Linked DNA regions of Homo sapiens: region 1 is linked to region 2. Evidence: promoter capture Hi-C in 16 types of primary human blood cells and fetal thymus (Javierre and others, 2016). All regions are on one chromosome and are shown on one strand. Each heading gives the region's core, a stretch centred on a gene start or on the middle of the fragment in contact. The rest is flanking DNA. Distances are from core to core; before and after follow the strand shown. Region 1 holds the start of SLC44A3 (solute carrier family 44 member 3). Region 2 holds the start of FNBP1L (formin binding protein 1 like).

Region 1 (2,760 bases), core at 256-2,755, 1.4 Mb after region 2:
TCTACCTTGAAATTTATCTCCATTATATCTTCAAATATTTCCCCTTCTCTGTTTTTATATTTCTTCCTTTCTGTTCTAGTTTTACCCTAGATATAAGCTAGAAAATTTACAAATAAGCTAACTTGTTTTTTAAAACATTTTCTACTGCCTCTGGAGGTTTGCTGAAAGTGCTCTTCCAATTACTAATTCATCGTCAGCTGCATCTTTTAGACTATTGCACATTACTAATACGTAGCATCAATATTCATTCTAATTATTATTTTTATGCTTAATATGTTTTAGTTTCATATTTTTTCCTGATTCATATTGCTAATATCATAACTCATTTTAAATAAATTTATCATGCTTATTTAAAAATCTTGGTCCATCTGCTCTACTGATCAGTTTCAGATGGCATATGTTATTCAGTTGTGGTCTTTTAACAGTAGTTGCACTCCTCCAGTGTCTAATTCTTTGTCCTATGAATTCATGTTCCCCTGGGGTTTCACCTACTCTGTCTGATAAACATGCATCCAGGAAGGCCCAGTGAGTTTGCAGTGGGAGGGTGGTGTGAGCCCAGAAGGAAATCGCTGGCACCAGAGAACCACTGTCTATCATTCCCAGTTTCTCCCACTTACCCAGATCTTTCCTCCAGTCAGGTTTCTACCCTTAGGGAGAAGCAGCACCTAAAGGAAGCAATTAACCTAGCAACCCTAAGGGTGGCAGGGGGAAGGGTAGAGGCTTGATTGAGAGGAGGTGGGGGGAGGTCGGCCTGCAGTTTTTTTTGTTTTTCGTTTTTTAAATTCCTCACCCCAACAGTGCTTTTGCGCTGGTCTGACACTACCTGGAAAACTATGCCACCAGTCGCTTCAGTGGACACTACCATTTCAATTGCGAAGTCAGGCAATGATTGTCCTAAGGCAAGGTGGGAGAGAAGTCAGAGTAAACCACCTCGAGAGCGCCGGTCTCCCGGAGTGTCTGGGTTCGACTCCTGCCTCCACAACTTACTGGGTCTCCTCGAACAAGTTGCATCACCAATGGCCGTGCCTCAGTTTCCCTCCTCCGTAGATTAGGAATAACAATAGCAGTGAGAACAGAATCCAGCACACAGTAAATGCTGCTTACCTGTTTGCTATGTGGAATACGCCACTACACTGTTGCTCGGCCCTCAGGAAGGGTCTGCTGAGACTTTCTACTTCCTGCTCAGGGCAGAGGCCGACCACCCGCCCAAGGTCGTGGCGGCGCCGGCTCAGCTTTAGTCGTCAAAGTGCACATCCTGGGAGCCGCTGCCTCGAGGTGGTTGAGGCGAGAGGGCAGGGAAGCGTCTGAGCCTCTTCCTCCCACCAGAGCAGGACCCCAGCTGACAGCGGGTGAGCTGGGCAGAAACCCATGCCGGGAAGAGGCGGACCCAGTGGACCGCAGCGCCCGCAGTCGCCGGGCCAGGCGCAGAGGCGAACGGGAGGCGGCGCTGCACCGTGCCCGCCCCTCCCCGGCCCGGCCCCGGCTCCAGCCCCAGCCCCAGCCCCAGCCCCGGCCCCGGCCCCGGCTCGCGGGCGCTGCGTCTCCGCGTACAGGAGGCGGCGGCGGCTCCCAGTCACCGGCCCCCGCCGGCGAGCGCACGATGCACTGCCTGGGCGCCGAGTACCTGGTAAGCGCTCGCAGCCTCGGCCCTCGGGGGAGGAGCCCCGGGGAAGGGTCGAGTCCCCCGCCTTCACGCACCTTCCCTGCCGGACGCTTCCGCCTTTCCCGCGCCTCGGGGATCCCGCCCCCGCTTAGTACCTTGGGGCCACCTGGCGGGGAGGAACCTGGACCCTGCTCCAGTGCTGGGGCGGAGGCGGGGGAGACGCGGGCCGCGGGGCGCAAACTTGGGGTCGTCCTCAGGTGCACCTCCAGGTAAGCACTTGGCGGCAGGGGGCTTAACATCCGCTCCGCGCAGAGCAGGTGTTTCAAAGGCTGTGTGAAAGAGCTTCAGGTGGCCACGTAAAAAAATAATATTAATTTTAAAAATTTAGAAAAAGATTGGTTACTTTGGCCCCTCTTCGAGTAGATTTGGGTTCGGTTTCCAGGTTGAGTCCACCTGTTTATCTTCTTTTTCTCAACTCTCCCTTTTTCTGGAAGGTTTCTGCAGAAGGAGCCCCTAGGCAAAGGGAGTGGCGACCCCAGATTTATAGGAAATGCACAGATACGGCATGGTTATTCCTGTTCTTTCTCTTTTGGACTGGTTTGGTAAGTGTGGGTGCTTGGTAGGAAAGAGGCCAGAGTGTGTGTGCACGTCTGGAAATAACTCTGTCCCAAATGTAAATCGTAGTTGGTGCTGCAGTGAGAGACTTCTGCCGTTAACCCACAATAAACATCAGTTTGTACTCGGGAGAATTCTTGTCCTAGACTCGCTAGAAAGGCTGTCTTTTTGCTACAGGCCATGTTCTAAGGGGTGACTCCATTAGGAAATGGGAATTAACAGTTTGCAATGTGATTGCTATTTAGTAAGGCCAATGTGTCTCCTTTTACTCTCCGAACTTACTGAACAGAAGTTCTTTTAGCACCTGCCACACCCCCAAATCAAATATTCCTCAAGCTTTTGGTGCACCTTTAACAAAGGAAAAGCCAGGGTAAGCCTAGAAATAAACTGCATTTCCTTTAGCTGAACATCACACACACACGCGCGCGAGAGATATGTTGTGTTTAGCAGCCAACACTGTTAACCATAGCTAACAAGGAATGATTTTTCCCACTCTAATTTCGAGGTATGTATGATTGCTGGTAAACTCCATCAGGCTATGC
Region 2 (2,700 bases), core at 127-2,626:
AAGCATTTAAAAATTGGCTATAACCCACTTGGAAGAGGGCATTTGTATGCTTAAAGTGGCCTCAGAAAAGGACAGCAGAGAATTTAGGAAGATTAGCAACTGGACTGTCAGGCGAACTCAGGCTGTTGGCCTCAACTCCAAGAGGGAGCGCAGCTAGGCAAAAGAATACGGATTAAGCGGAAGAGGTTGGAACACCTGTCCAGGCCAGGTAGGGGAGGAGTTTCAATGCTGACAAAGAACCCGTTGGGAGAGCTTCCTAAAACACCCAGCTGTCATGACGCACTGAGGAGTACTCTACTAGTTGACTGTTTTGAAGTGTGTGTGTGTGCGCTTGCTTGCTTTAGGAGACAAGCTATTAATACTAAAGCATATGTTAGGGAGTTGCTCAGCGTACTTGATATCTAGTAGCACCAGCCAAACTAGCTAACAGCCTTTCCATGGAGATAGGCCAGGAAGTAGCTCCATAGAGAAAAAAGGAAGTAGTGGACCTGCCTCCAAGGTTCCGATACTGGGAGGTGAAAGAGATCTGAAGTTCCGAATAAGCTGTTTACACTACCAGAGAAAAATCTGGCTCCCATCCAACCCTCACCCACGAGGTGCCCATTCCAGACATGGGGCAAGCTGCCTTCTCATCTTCCGCAGGTGACAGCTCGGCTCACATTTGTCCACGTCTTCCATCTCGTGCGCTGGCAACATACCTAAATGATTACTGGAAGAGCTGCCTCTTTTTATAATTTCCTGACAGAATTTATAAAATTAAAATATTTAATTAAAGACAGAATCGGGGACATGTTGCCTTCACATTTGCTGTTCAACCTGTGCACATTTTGGTGGTTCCCAAGAATCGTCATGCCAAAGCATCAGGCTTGAAAGGAGAGATCACCTTAAGCATCAAGATTTAAAAAAATAAAACACAACTCTCCTCAGTCTAAACTCTAGGATTTGGATGACGCTTCCCTGTCAAGGTTTCTCCCGAGTGGAGGAGACAAGAGGCAGGAAAGGCAGGTAACTAAAATTGCCTCATGTAAAGGGGCTCAGCGCAGAGGAGGAATGAGATAATAGCGGCGGTGGGGGTCTTTTCCCTTCTCTCCCTTTCTATCTTGGAAACAGGGGTCCGACTGGCAGCGGAGTGGGGGCAGTCCAAGCTCCGGGGTACCTGCAGGAGGAGACTCGACCAGCGAGAGGGGCCAGCGAGGGTGACCAGGTGCCCGCTTGGGGACCCCGCCGGCGGTGGCCAGGCTAGCCCAGGTCCTCCCCGATCCCAGGATGCACTGCGCCCCGCCCCCTCCCCGCGCCGCGTTCCGCCTCCCCTCGGCCCCGGCCCCCTCCCGCCCAGCGCGGGGAGGCGGGGACGCGTCGGCGGCGGAGGCTTCTCCAGTCGCGTCTTTCTCACTCACTGGGGAGCCCGGCGGTGGCGGCACCTTTCGAGGTAGACCCGCTGAGCTGCTAGCCCGCCGGCCAGCGAGTGAGAGGTCGGACAGACTGTGGAGCCGACAGACTGAAGGACAGCGGCACCGCCAGACGGCCAGAAAGTTCCGCCATGAGCTGGGGCACGGAGCTGTGGGTGAGTCGGGGAGAGGGGCGCCCCGCACGGACCCCGGCCCCTGAGAAGCGCGGGTTGGGCGGGCGCCGCGGACCCTCGGCGGTGAAAGCGCGCTCCGCCGTCCTCGGTCCGGCGCTGGCGGAGGGTGAGGGTCCCGCTCGTCTTTGTGTGCAGACTCCTCTTCCCTTCTCGGCCGGGGGTCTAGGGGGCCGCTAGTCCGTGCTCCCGCCTTTGCCGCCGTGGTGCAGCTCGGGCGGCGCCCGGGACGGCCGGGGGAGCAGCCCGCGGGCTCCTGCGTGCGCCGTGATCCCCTCTTGTTCCTTCTCCCTCCTCCACCTTCACTTTTCCCGACGCCTGGCTTCGCGCCCGGCGGCTCCTCTCTTCCTTTGTATCTCTCCTCCCGGAGGCGGGGGAGGGGGCCCATTGTCCCCAAGGGGCGCTGTTCGAGGGCGGGGAGGGGACCGGCCGCGATTCCTCGCCCGGGCCAGGTCCGCGGGGCTAGGGCGTCGCCCGTCTGGGGCGGCGCCGCCCAGAGCCCTCGCCCCAGGTATGGGGACCCAGGCGGCTTTGTTCGGAGCCCGGCCTCGGGCCAGCCAGGCCCAGCCCACACGCACATTTCTCTCTCCCTGCCTCAGTGCTTCGGGCGGGCACAGCTTCGAGGGACTCCGGTTTGGCCACCCCCGGCTGCAGCCTTTGGGCTGGTGGGTTGGTTTTGGGGGCTGAATTAAATCGAGTGATCGATGAGGAAGCTAATTTTACCAAAAGGAGCGTACGGTCTCCCTGTTGCTTTACTTCCCTTTCCGTTCTTTATTCTCACTTGTTCTTTCTCCTTCGTTCTCTCCTTTCCTTTCCTCCTTGCCTTTCTTTGGCACAGGAGGCTCCAGACAATGCCCAGTGTCTGGCCAAGGTACGGGCGGAGGGTAATAGGTCGGAGAATTTGCTCCTGGCGCCGGCGCGGAAGGGTCGAGGTGTGGAGGGCAGTGATTTCTCAGGTGCGGAGGGCAGTGATTTCTCAGGTGCGGCCGGGAGAACTGGGGGCGTGGGGGCGCTGTCCCGAGAGCCGCCTGGCCTCAGCCACTCCCCTTTTTATTCCACCTGTGCCTGTTTTCCGTGCCTTTTGTTCGCGAGGATCTCGTGAAATCACTGCAGAGAAAGGG

The links. Contacts are between HindIII fragments. The CHiCAGO score rates a contact against its expected background, and 5 or more counts as called.
Region 1: the fragment with the promoter of SLC44A3 here is called in contact with the fragment with the promoter of FNBP1L in region 2 in 6 of 17 cell types (total B cells, non-activated CD4 T cells, total CD4 T cells and 3 more); the score reaches 14.1 in total B cells.

Annotation. Positions count from the first base shown.
Region 1 is chr1:94,818,852-94,821,611 of GRCh38, forward strand. SLC44A3 (solute carrier family 44 member 3) reads left to right here and starts at 1,506. Exons shown (of 15, transcript NM_001114106.3): 1 at 1,506-1,627; 2 at 2,098-2,205. The coding sequence starts at 1,601. SLC44A3-AS1 (SLC44A3 antisense RNA 1) reads right to left here and starts at 1,381. Exons shown (of 6, transcript NR_160780.1): 1 at 1,105-1,381. RefSeq lists a silencer at 1,510-1,699. The HindIII fragment of the contact is 9,215 bases long and covers 1-2,552 here.
Region 2 is chr1:93,446,742-93,449,441 of GRCh38, forward strand. FNBP1L (formin binding protein 1 like) reads left to right here and starts at 1,377. Exons shown (of 17, transcript NM_001164473.3): 1 at 1,377-1,564. The coding sequence starts at 1,541. RefSeq lists silencers at 251-545, 1,485-1,534 and an enhancer at 1,026-2,004. The HindIII fragment of the contact is 14,675 bases long and covers 1-2,700 here.